Linked DNA regions of Homo sapiens: region 1 is linked to region 2. The links are contacts of gene promoters, found by promoter capture Hi-C in blood cells and fetal thymus (Javierre and others, 2016). All regions are on one chromosome and are shown on one strand. The core of a region is centred on a gene start or on the middle of the fragment in contact, and the rest is flanking DNA. Distances in the headings are between cores, read along the strand shown. Region 1 overlaps SHC4 (SHC adaptor protein 4). Region 2 holds the start of SHC4 (SHC adaptor protein 4).

Region 1 (5,003 bases), core at 2,165-4,664, 100 kb after region 2:
AAAATGGGTGTGTCCAAGAAGATAACTTAGTAACATAGGGTAGTTTTCTTGGCTTTAAAAGTTAATATGTCTCTATCACCTCTTCCTCCTTTTCTGATCTCCTCGTTCTTTCTCATATAGCTTGGCTATAAAAATCCTGTGAGAAGACACTGTGTTCTCAACATACCTCCTCCTTGCACACAGTCCTCTAGTGCTAAATCTTTTCCCCCGACCTGAGCCCTTGGACTGACAGTGCCCGCAAAGAGGTGATGACACAGCTTTTGAATACACAAATAATTATTAATGATTATGGAAGGAAAATCCCACCATGGTATTATCATTTAGCAAGAGGGAGAAACATAATCCATAAGATGTGCATAGAGAAAGAGGGATGCCTAGAGAACAGTGCCTAAAACGCAGTAGATGCTTGGGATTTGTGGAGTAAGTAAAAAAAGACACAGGTGAAAGAGCAGTGTAATGAGAGCTTACAGCCAAGTGTTTGCAGGTTGTGCGAATGTGCGTGTAAAGGCGGGGTTGCAGAGAAAGGAAAAAGTGGAAGTAGGGGTCCCACAGCTGAAAAGATAGACCAGAGACAGATTGTGGGGGGACTTTGAATACTGGCCAGGAGGTCACTGGAGCCATCAAATATTTTGAGCTTTAAAAATATTATTATGTTTTGCTATTCTGAAATTACTAAATGATCATTTTTCTGGCAGTTGTGTCTTTAAAAGTGGTATTGGAGGCCGGGCGCGGTGGCTCACGCCTGTAATCCCAGCACTGTGGGAGGCCGAGGCGGGCAGATCATGAGGTCAGGAGATGGAGACCATCCTGGCTAACACGGTGAAACCCCGTCTCTACTAAAAATACAAAAAATTAGCTGGGTGTGGTGGTGGGCACCTGTAGTCCCAGCTACTCGGGAGGCTGAGGCAGGAGAATGGTGTGAACCCGGGAGGCGGAGCTTGCAGTGAGCCAAGATCACGCCACTGCACTCCAGCCTGGGCGACAGAGCAAGACTCTGTCTCAAAAAAAAAAAAAAAAAAAAAAAAAAAAAGAAAGTGGTATTGGTATTGGAAAGCAGAAAAGCCACCTGGAATGATAGAATTCAATTTAGAGGACATCTCATTAGTCGTGGGCAGCAGTGTAATGTTCTAAATGGCACTGGAGGAGGAAGGAAGAGTTTGGGTCAAATTTGTGAACTAATAGTACTTGATGACTATTTAGATATTTAGATTGATGGAGAAATAGGAATCAGATGTTCCTGAGGATTTAATGAGATATCATATGCAATGCAAACATTTCAATACCTGGCTTATAGCACCTAGGCAGTAAATGGTAGCTATTATTACTATTCTGTGTGATGTGGAGTGATGTTGCCACTAAAGAAACAGAAATTCTCATAAATAGAATAAACAAACAATCTAATAAAAAAAATAGGCAAAGAAAAATGGCTACCATTTATTGCATGCTTACTATGTGCCAGGCATTTTCAGTACTCCATCTGCATTATCTCATTTCATCCTCACAGCAGCCCTAGGGAGTATGTAAACATATCATTCCTTTTTTTAAATAGAAGAAAACACTGGAGGTGAGAAAAATAAGGCGGTTTTCGTAAGATTACCCAGCCATTAAGTGGATGGACAGATTCTACGTCCTGAGCACACAAAAGAACATGGCAAGGCACCAAGAAACATTTGAAAAATAAAAAAGTTTAGCCTCACTAGCAATCAGACACACAAATTATAATTAGACATCATATTTCATCTCCAAATTTCAAACATTGAAAAAAGATAAAATGTGGTTTCGAGTAGTAGTTATTCTTGAACACTGCTGATAAAGAGTTTAGATTCAAACATTTTAAAGAGCAATTTGATCATTTGCATCAAACATCTTAAAAATGTAAATGCCTTTGAACCAGTAGTTTTATTTCTGAGGAAATAATTAGGATACGTACAAAGATTAAGCAATATAGATCATTTTTGTATATTATTTATATCATAAGACAAAATTTAGTATTCATAAGTAGCAAATTAAATAAACTCATAGAATGTACTATGATGCAGCAATTAAAGCTAATAGTAGAAAAATAAGTAATTATATGGGAAAAATATTCACAATGCTGTTAATGCAAAAAACATTATGAAGATTGTGTATAGTATAATCCCAGGTGACTTTTCTGGGTAGATACGCATTATAAGAAGATAGGAAAGACATATGGCAAAATGTTCCTAGTGGTTATTGAGATAACCACTGGATAGTGAAATTTTCTGTAATTTTTATTTCTTCTTGGTGCCTTTTTGTTTTCTAAAACTCTTACAGTGAATATTTATTACATTTATAAAAAGAAAAAATATCCAAAACCTTTGAATAAATGTTTTAAAATAATGAAATCAGAAAGCTGATGTTATAAAATTAACTAGCAAGTTTGTTTCATCCAGGAGAAAATGGCAGACAAGAGAAGCCCAGAGAGTAGGTCTGGGGCTGGGGGTGGGGCTGGCAGGGAGGGGAGGGAGGCAGGCCAGGCCTGCAGGTGCAGAAAAAAACTGCAACTTCTTAGCAGAACCTAGAAAGAAGAGGGCTAAGGATGTCAGGGAGTGGGGGAAGCCACAGGAGACAGTGACTTGCCTAAGGAGTAGTCAGGGGACAGGAGGAAGTCAAGAAATGAGTATTACCTAACAGAGGGGAAGAGCAAGGTTCTTCTGAAGGAGACATCTCAGATGGTCACACACTGAAAAGGAGTTAAGGGGCATGAGGGTGGGAAGATGCTATTTCGCCCAGCAATTAACAGGCCACTGGTCACTCTGGAAAGCTCAATTTTTGTACACCTAGAAAGGCAGGAGCCAGATTGCAGGGATGAGGAGGACAGTATGGTTGACAGGAAGTGGAGATGAGCAGAGGAGACTGGGCTTCATGCTGACAATCCCGAAGCTTCCCACTCTTCCTTTTGCTTGATTCGCTTTTAGCATTAGTGCATTTAAATCAGGGCAGTTCCCACTTTTTCCATCTTGGCTAGGACCCTTTAGTGAACTCTTCATTTTATCAAAGGCCTTTTTTATAGAAAAGGTTAAGTTCCAGTAAGAATGTTTTGAGTTTAGTTAGTGATTAATACACCCTGCTTCTGTAATTGCTGTAAATGAGGAAATCCACATTGTCTTACTCCAAATGTGTGGCAGTCCAGGAATGTTTTAATATTTTCCCTGAATCTAGTCTGTGAATAGGACTGGACTGCTTGGACTACCTGGATATAGGAAGGCCATGCTTCTGGGTCTCTGAAGAAAGTTAAAAAAAAAAAAACCCCAAAACCAGTAAAACCAACTTAAATTAATCCACTTATTTTTATTTATGTTTATAGTTATAAAGTATGCCTACGACTGTCCTGGTGGTATTAATTAGCTATGAACTGAATACTGGCTTGCCTCTTTGAGGTTGTTTCTTCCTAAAGTATGGAGGACTCCCTGCTTTGATCCCATAGCACCATCTGGTGGTTGACCTGAAAAGCTGAACTTTTGAATTTCTGGTTTTCTAAGTATAAAAGGAAAAGACAGAAACAAAACAAAAAAACTGTTTATTAAGAACAAATATAAAAGTAGTAAAGAAGTGTCTGTTATCCTTTAGTAATAGTTGTAATCCTCTTGTTTATGACTACCTAATTCAATAACCAAATAAAAAAGACAGATGAATATGTATCTCAGGTTCTTTTGAATCTTAGTTTAGTACTTGATACCCAGGGCTGGAAGTGTGAGCCCATCCTGCTACAGGTGGGATGAAAAAAATCCAGACTTTCATCTGATTCCAGACATGGGAAGCAAAGCTCAGGCCTTGGTAACAAAGTTACCATATCCCTGAAAAGGCACCCTCTTTTTTGTGACTTGGCTCTTTTTATATATAGTTACTTGTCTTTCTTCTTTCCCTTTAGCTGAAAATTGGGCAATTCTTGGCCAAGCTTTTGGAATTGGTTTTAATCCTGGGAAATGGGCATATTTATATGTGATTCAAGGCCCACCTCTATCCTGTCCCATGACCAACCTAAAAAAGACCATTTCCATAGAGCAACATAGCATGTCTATGAGAGGCAACAATGGAACTGTGAAAGTACATGTGCTCCCTGAAGGTGGTGAGACTGGGCAGAACATCTGCATGAGGTCAGTCTGTTTGTCTGCTGTTGCATCTTGCCTGGAGACAGACAGACACCACTGTTTGTTCTTTTATTTTTGTCCAGTCTTCTCAAGCTGGGTGTGTTGGGGCATGCCTGTAGTCCCAGCTACTTGGGAGGCTGAAGCAGGAGGATCACTTGAGCCCAGGAGTTCAAGTCCAGTCTGAGCAACGTAGTGAGACACCTGTCTCTATAATAAATAAAGTAATATGGTAGTAATAGGCTAATCCAAAGAAAAGCAGAAAATTATGTTGATAGCATCAGCCTATGAACAGGACCCAAACCTCAAAGCATCAGAATCAGAAAAGTTGAGATAAATAAGACATTCTAGAGGTACGCCAGAAGCGTTAGAGGCTGGTTGATGTGTCTGATTGATTCATTCATTTCTGTGTACCCACATGCCGCCCTGTTCCTCAGAGACTTTGAGCTTCCATGACAGAGGAAGAATAGGGTTTCTGTAAAACAAAAAGACTTCAAAGATGACTCAGGACATTGTCTTGGCAGACAAGGACCTTGCCATAAAGTGACTTGTTCAAGGTCACATAAGTAGTGGCATAATTGGAACTTGAACTCAGATCTGAATCTTTTCACGGAGTTCTTTTAAACATCCTATTCTCTCATCGCCCTCACTGGAAGTACAATTTAGCTTTTCTTATTTATTTATTTAGGCTTAAGTATCCTGCTTCTCTCATTATCTTCCTCATCTTCATCTCTCAACATCTCCTCAATCCTAAGAAAAAATAAAATTGCAAAAATTGTTGTTTCCATTTTGATATGACTTTCTATTTTGACTTCATTTTTATTTTTATTTATTATTATTATTTTTATTTTTGAGATGGAGTTTCACTCGTCGCCCAGACTGGAGTGCAATGAC
Region 2 (5,219 bases), core at 545-3,044:
CAGCCAAGGTCTCTAGGCTTTGGGAAGAGAAGGAGCCCACAATGGCCATGACTGCTTTCTTACCTTACTTAGTCCCACTTCGCAACCCCCAACCCTCCCAGGACTCGCACTTTCTGAGGCATGTAGGCTGGTCTGGGCTCCTGGAGTCTGGCCAGCATGGTGCCTACCTAGATGAGCTGGCTCCCCTGGACACCCCATCCTGCAGTCATGAGACCTCTGTAAGGATTCCTATCAGCCAGGCAGGCCCATGTCCTTTCCAGCCTTCTCCAGGCCCACCTGATTTAAAAAATTGTTTTCTTTGGACAATGTTGAGTTTCTTAGCTTCTCCCACTTTGTACTAATTTTTCTTTTTAGTTGCCTAGAATGATGTAAACTCTGCAGTGTGAGGGTTAAGAATATGAGCTTCAAGGGGAGGTAGCTCTGGTTCCAATGGCCATTTTTTCATACTGCCCACATGTACTTAGTGAGATGGGCACTGTATGGAGCATTGGGCCTCGTAAGCCCTCATAACAACCCCATTAGATGGCTGCTGCCAACATATGAGGACATTCAGGCACGGAGAGGTAAAGTAACTTTCTAAAGGGAGCATATAATGAGGTCATCATAGCATAACAGAAGCAACACAGGGACCCAGGGACCCAGGGGAAGGCAGGAAAAATGAGAGGAAGAAAGCAGATGAGGAATGAGGAGGAATGAGAGGTAAATATTCTTGCCCAGAGCCTGTCTCCTCAGCCCCAGGGATGTGGGGTCCAACTGATTTAGCTACTTCCCTCAGTTTTGCCAGGAGGAGATGTAGGGCAGGGAAAAGGAGGTCAACAAGGATTGAAGGGAAGATTTATGAAGATGCAGAAAGGCCTTTCCAGGGAAAGAAATGTCTGAACAGGCTTGGCAGACAGGATGTGATGGGTGCTTTATTTCCCTGGGGGACCAGGGAGCTTGGGAGGAGGATGCCGCTTTCACTGGTCACTCTCAACCATTTAATTCAGAACCTGTGTTTGGATCCCAAGGGAGCTCAGGCTCCCAAAGTCATGAATATACATAAGCCTAATCCAGCATTAGGGACAATAAGATAATGAAGGTGGCACCCTTAATTCCTTTGGTTGCCAGTTTGTCTTAATTTTTTAATTAATGAACAATTTCAGATGTCAAAGCCTTGAGACACGGAGTAATGCAATCTTTTCTGAGAGTTCTTTATCTCTTCCTATGTGTGATTTCCACCCCACCCCGACACCCCACACCCCCAGTGTTTCAGCAGTTTCCTCTTCTCCATTCCTGAAGAACCTGCATTTCCTTTTCCCAGCTCTGGTTTTGGCTTCCTGTGTGCTAAGCCTTTGCAGTTGTCATCATGTCTTCAGGATGCATTTGATAGGTACAGGAAGTCGCACCAGACGGAAGATGGAACCAACAATCAATAAAAAAAGAACTATGTTTCTAAGAAAAATGCATCATGGCTTCCCACAGGAGTTGTGAACCATATGTCCTAATATCCCTGTAACAATGGGTCTAATTTTTAGCTCTTCTGCTCTGCCCTCCCGGCCATCTCAACAAGAAAGAAAATAGATCTTTTAACCTGCTGCTCCCCGGCTAATGATCTGTAGTAAAGATTGCCTTTCCTTTTAACTCATTCATCAGATACCACAAAATAAAATACGTCCCTCCTCTCCCGCTAGCTTTATTTCTCTCGGCTACTAGTTTAGTATATTTATGGTGTATGAGTCATCAAGCTGCCTCCTGATTGGATAAAAACCAAGCACCTCTGAGACCGTCAGTCAATTACAGCTATTCTCAGCTTCATTCACAGATTTATTAGCTTGCACACACACAGAGAAATTCATTCGGCAAAGTTCATTCATAAAAATTTCAACACGCTGCGTATCATCCTGCACATCTCAGCTTTCGGCTGCAAATGGGCTTCTGAAAAAAGCTCCGAGAGGAATCCAGGAGGGAGGGAAGCTCTGAGCGAGGGTAGGCAGGCTGGGAGGGGATCTGAGGAACACGGACCCATCACAAGTCAGTGAAACAATGCGGAGCAGCGCCCGTCAGTAGTACTCCTGGCTGGTGGCCCAGAACGGGATGCAAGACAAGATCTTCCAAGAGAGGGCAGCCTTTGGAATCAACGAACCCAGGCAAAAGGGCCTTTGGTTCATAGATACATTTTTTTTTCCTTTTTAAATGAACAATCACTGGAACAAATAAAGGGTTAATAGGCCAGTCATTTGCCCCGCCCTGTGAGAGCCGAAGGGAGCAGGTTCGAAAGTTCCTGTGTGCAGAACAGAAGGCTGGGGTGAGGGTGGGAGTCGGGTGCTAAATATTTCTACTAGGCTCCTGCAAGGCTAGTGATGCAGCGGGCCCCCCGACCGGCGCTCGCCCGGGTTCTGCGCCTAAGAGTTGGCCGTGAGCGACCCGCGCCGCCGGGAGCCTGGGTCTAGGCTCTCCCGACAAGGATTCCAAGGCGAGAACACTGGTGCCTCTGCCTGGGCCAGGGAGAGACTGAAATCAGAGCAGGGGAGGCGTTTCCCCCATGGGCTGTCACCCTTAAGGGGCCGGGAGCCGAGGTGGGCGAGCTCGAGAGCAGAGTTGGAGAGGTGGCTGCTGTGAGTTGCATCGGGCGTTGAGGTATCTGATGTCTGCACCGTTTATCTACCAGACGACGAGGCGATTTATGCAACAGTATCCTGTTTCAGCACTGCCAAGGCTATGCGAGAACGCGGCCAGGACAGCCTGGCAGGACTCGTGCTGTATGTAGGACTCTTCGGGCACCCCGGGATGCTGCACAGGGCCAAGTACAGCCGCTTTCGGAACGAGTCGATCACGTCCTTGGACGAAGGTAGCTCCGGAGGCTCGGTCGGGAACAAGGGCTCGCCGCAGCCTCCCCACCCCGCCCTGGCACCTCACCTGCCGACTGAAGATGCCACCTTGCCGTCGCAGGAGAGCCCCACCCCACTGTGCACCTTGATCCCCCGCATGGCAAGCATGAAGCTGGCCAACCCGGCCACTTTGCTGAGTCTGAAAAACTTTTGCCTGGGTACCAAAGAGGTGCCTCGGCTGAAGCTCCAGGAAAGCCGGGACCCAGGTTCCAGCGGCCCCTCTTCCCCAGAAACCAGTTTAAGTAGGTCCGGGACTGCACCTCCACCGCAGCAGGACCTGGTGGGACACAGGGCAACCGCCCTAACCCCTGATTCGTGCCCGCTTCCTGGCCCTGGGGAGCCAACACTTAGGAGCAGGCAGGACAGGCACTTTCTACAGCACCTGTTGGGGATGGGCATGAACTACTGTGTGAGGGTAAGTCCATTTTCCTCTCTGCCCTCTAAGAACTTCCGTGGAAGGGGGCATCTTCTCTGCTTTCTGCAAGGGGTCTAATGTTACCTGCCTGGGTTCTGTGTTTGGACAGGACATGATTCAACTGGACCAAGGCGGAGGGGAGCTGGGTTTATATATGTCCCTACAACTATCTGACTTGTACTGGAGTCAGGCAGCCTTTGGTTCAAGGACATGAACCGGTGCTAACTTGTAGGACATGAACTTGTGGGTACTTGGCAGGTGTAGAGGCAAGTTCTGATAGAGGCAGCTGATGGCACCACTTTGTCCCCGCTGGACCTAGTATTCTGGCCAAAAAGAGTCAAGGACTTCAAATCTGATCAGTGATTGAGACCTGGTAGGTTATACTGGCCATTGTATTTTGGATGAATACAGTAAAGATTTCTGTGCTGTAGAAACACATGGTGTGTAAGGGGCTTGAATTATTCTTTAAAAATTTATTTCAGCATTTAACAAACACTTCTCAAAACACGTCCGAGTCTCTAACCTTGTGCCAGGAGCTAGTCTTAGCTCTCCGGTGCACATTTATTGCCTTTACTGCCTACGCTGCAGCAAGTAGGCCTTGTCCATGAGCTATGGGCAAAATCAAGGTCCTTACTGGCCTTGTATCTGTCCTTGCTCAGTCAAGATGTGGGCAAATGAAGATTTGGCCTGTGCCCTTTTGCAGCTCAGATTTCAATGAGATCAATGAATACATGCGAAATACTAAGATAATAATACTTAGCAATAGATAGCTAATATGAGAATGCTGAGGGAATTCAGAAAAAAGGAAAGATTATGTGATCTGGGATTCATTCACATGGGGAACCCTCAGGAGAAGATGAATCTTGGAAGAAATGTCAGATCTGGGTTGGCAGAAAGGAGGGGATTCCTGGTAGGCCAAGAATAGGAGCAAAGTCACTGTGGTGGCTGCAGGGGAGCATCACACAGGCTGGGCCTTATGGAGGAGGAAGGGGAATGCTGGAGAATAGTGGGTGACTGAGGGAGGGGGTGGCTTGTAGTACTCAAACAAGTATGAGTTGAATAAAGACAAATAGAGATCACGGGTAGCTTGGGAGACCGAAGTTGACTGAAGCTCTTAAATGCCAAATGAGGAGATTGTAAATACTGTGATTGATAAATGAGAATCCTCCTAGGTTTGTAGGGCATGACTTGCTGAAAGTAATTTTTAAAAGACCAGTTGGTTGATTTATTTGACATGGATTGAAGCAGGGAAAAATTAGAGACTTGGAGGACAGTAAGAAAGATACTCTGAGAGTTTAGGTATGAGGCAATGAGAACACTGATTAAGGTGGAGAGGAGAGAAAGGAGGTGAATGGTAAGGCATTCTGTGACAGAAGAATGAGAGAAGCCTCAACAACCCTGGGAGATTAAGCAGATCATTTCAAATCATAATATAACTAATAGAGTAGTGAACATTTATGGAGCAGTGGGTAGATTGATTATTTTGTTACCATTGTTGTTTATTGGGGTTGTGATTGATTATTGATGGAGGGTTGTAAAGGGTGAAAAAAAAACTTTCAAATTGAAGTCTCAGAATGACATCAGTGATGCCAATGACTGAAGCAGAGTAAATTAGGAAATGGACTCATTTTAAGTTTGTTTTTGACATATTAAATTTAATGTAATTATTTGTAAATAATGCTAATATGTAGGTAGACAGTCATATAAAACTAGCACTCAGGCGAGATGTCTGATCTGAAGGTATAGAGAGCTAGCCCAAGAACTGTATTACAGACAATTAGGATCTCAGTATTACAAACAGACAATTAGGATCTCAGGGAAGTTCAAATAATAAACACTGGAAGGGTTACAGAGAGAGCAGGCTTGGGCAGTCCTGGCAAATGGGTAACTAAAACCTCTAAAGCAGATAAATGTATGGGACATGCAGCTCTCGCCCT

Evidence for each region. Contacts are between HindIII fragments. The CHiCAGO score rates a contact against its expected background, and 5 or more counts as called.
Region 1: a fragment that was not itself captured here is called in contact with the fragment with the promoter of SHC4 in region 2 in 1 of 17 cell types (megakaryocytes); the score reaches 6.0 in megakaryocytes.

Annotation. Positions count from the first base shown.
Region 1 is chr15:48,860,464-48,865,466 of GRCh38, reverse strand. All of the region lies in intron 6 of SHC4 (SHC adaptor protein 4), which reads left to right. Among named protein-coding and RNA genes, the nearest start is that of EID1, 15 kb to the left of the region's middle. The HindIII fragment of the contact is 1,015 bases long and covers 2,907-3,921 here.
Region 2 is chr15:48,960,494-48,965,712 of GRCh38, reverse strand. It overlaps SHC4 (SHC adaptor protein 4), which reads left to right and starts at 1,794. Exons shown (of 12, transcript NM_203349.4): 1 at 1,794-3,282. The coding sequence starts at 2,698. RefSeq lists enhancers at 2,316-2,817, 2,818-3,320. The HindIII fragment of the contact is 13,438 bases long and covers 1-5,219 here.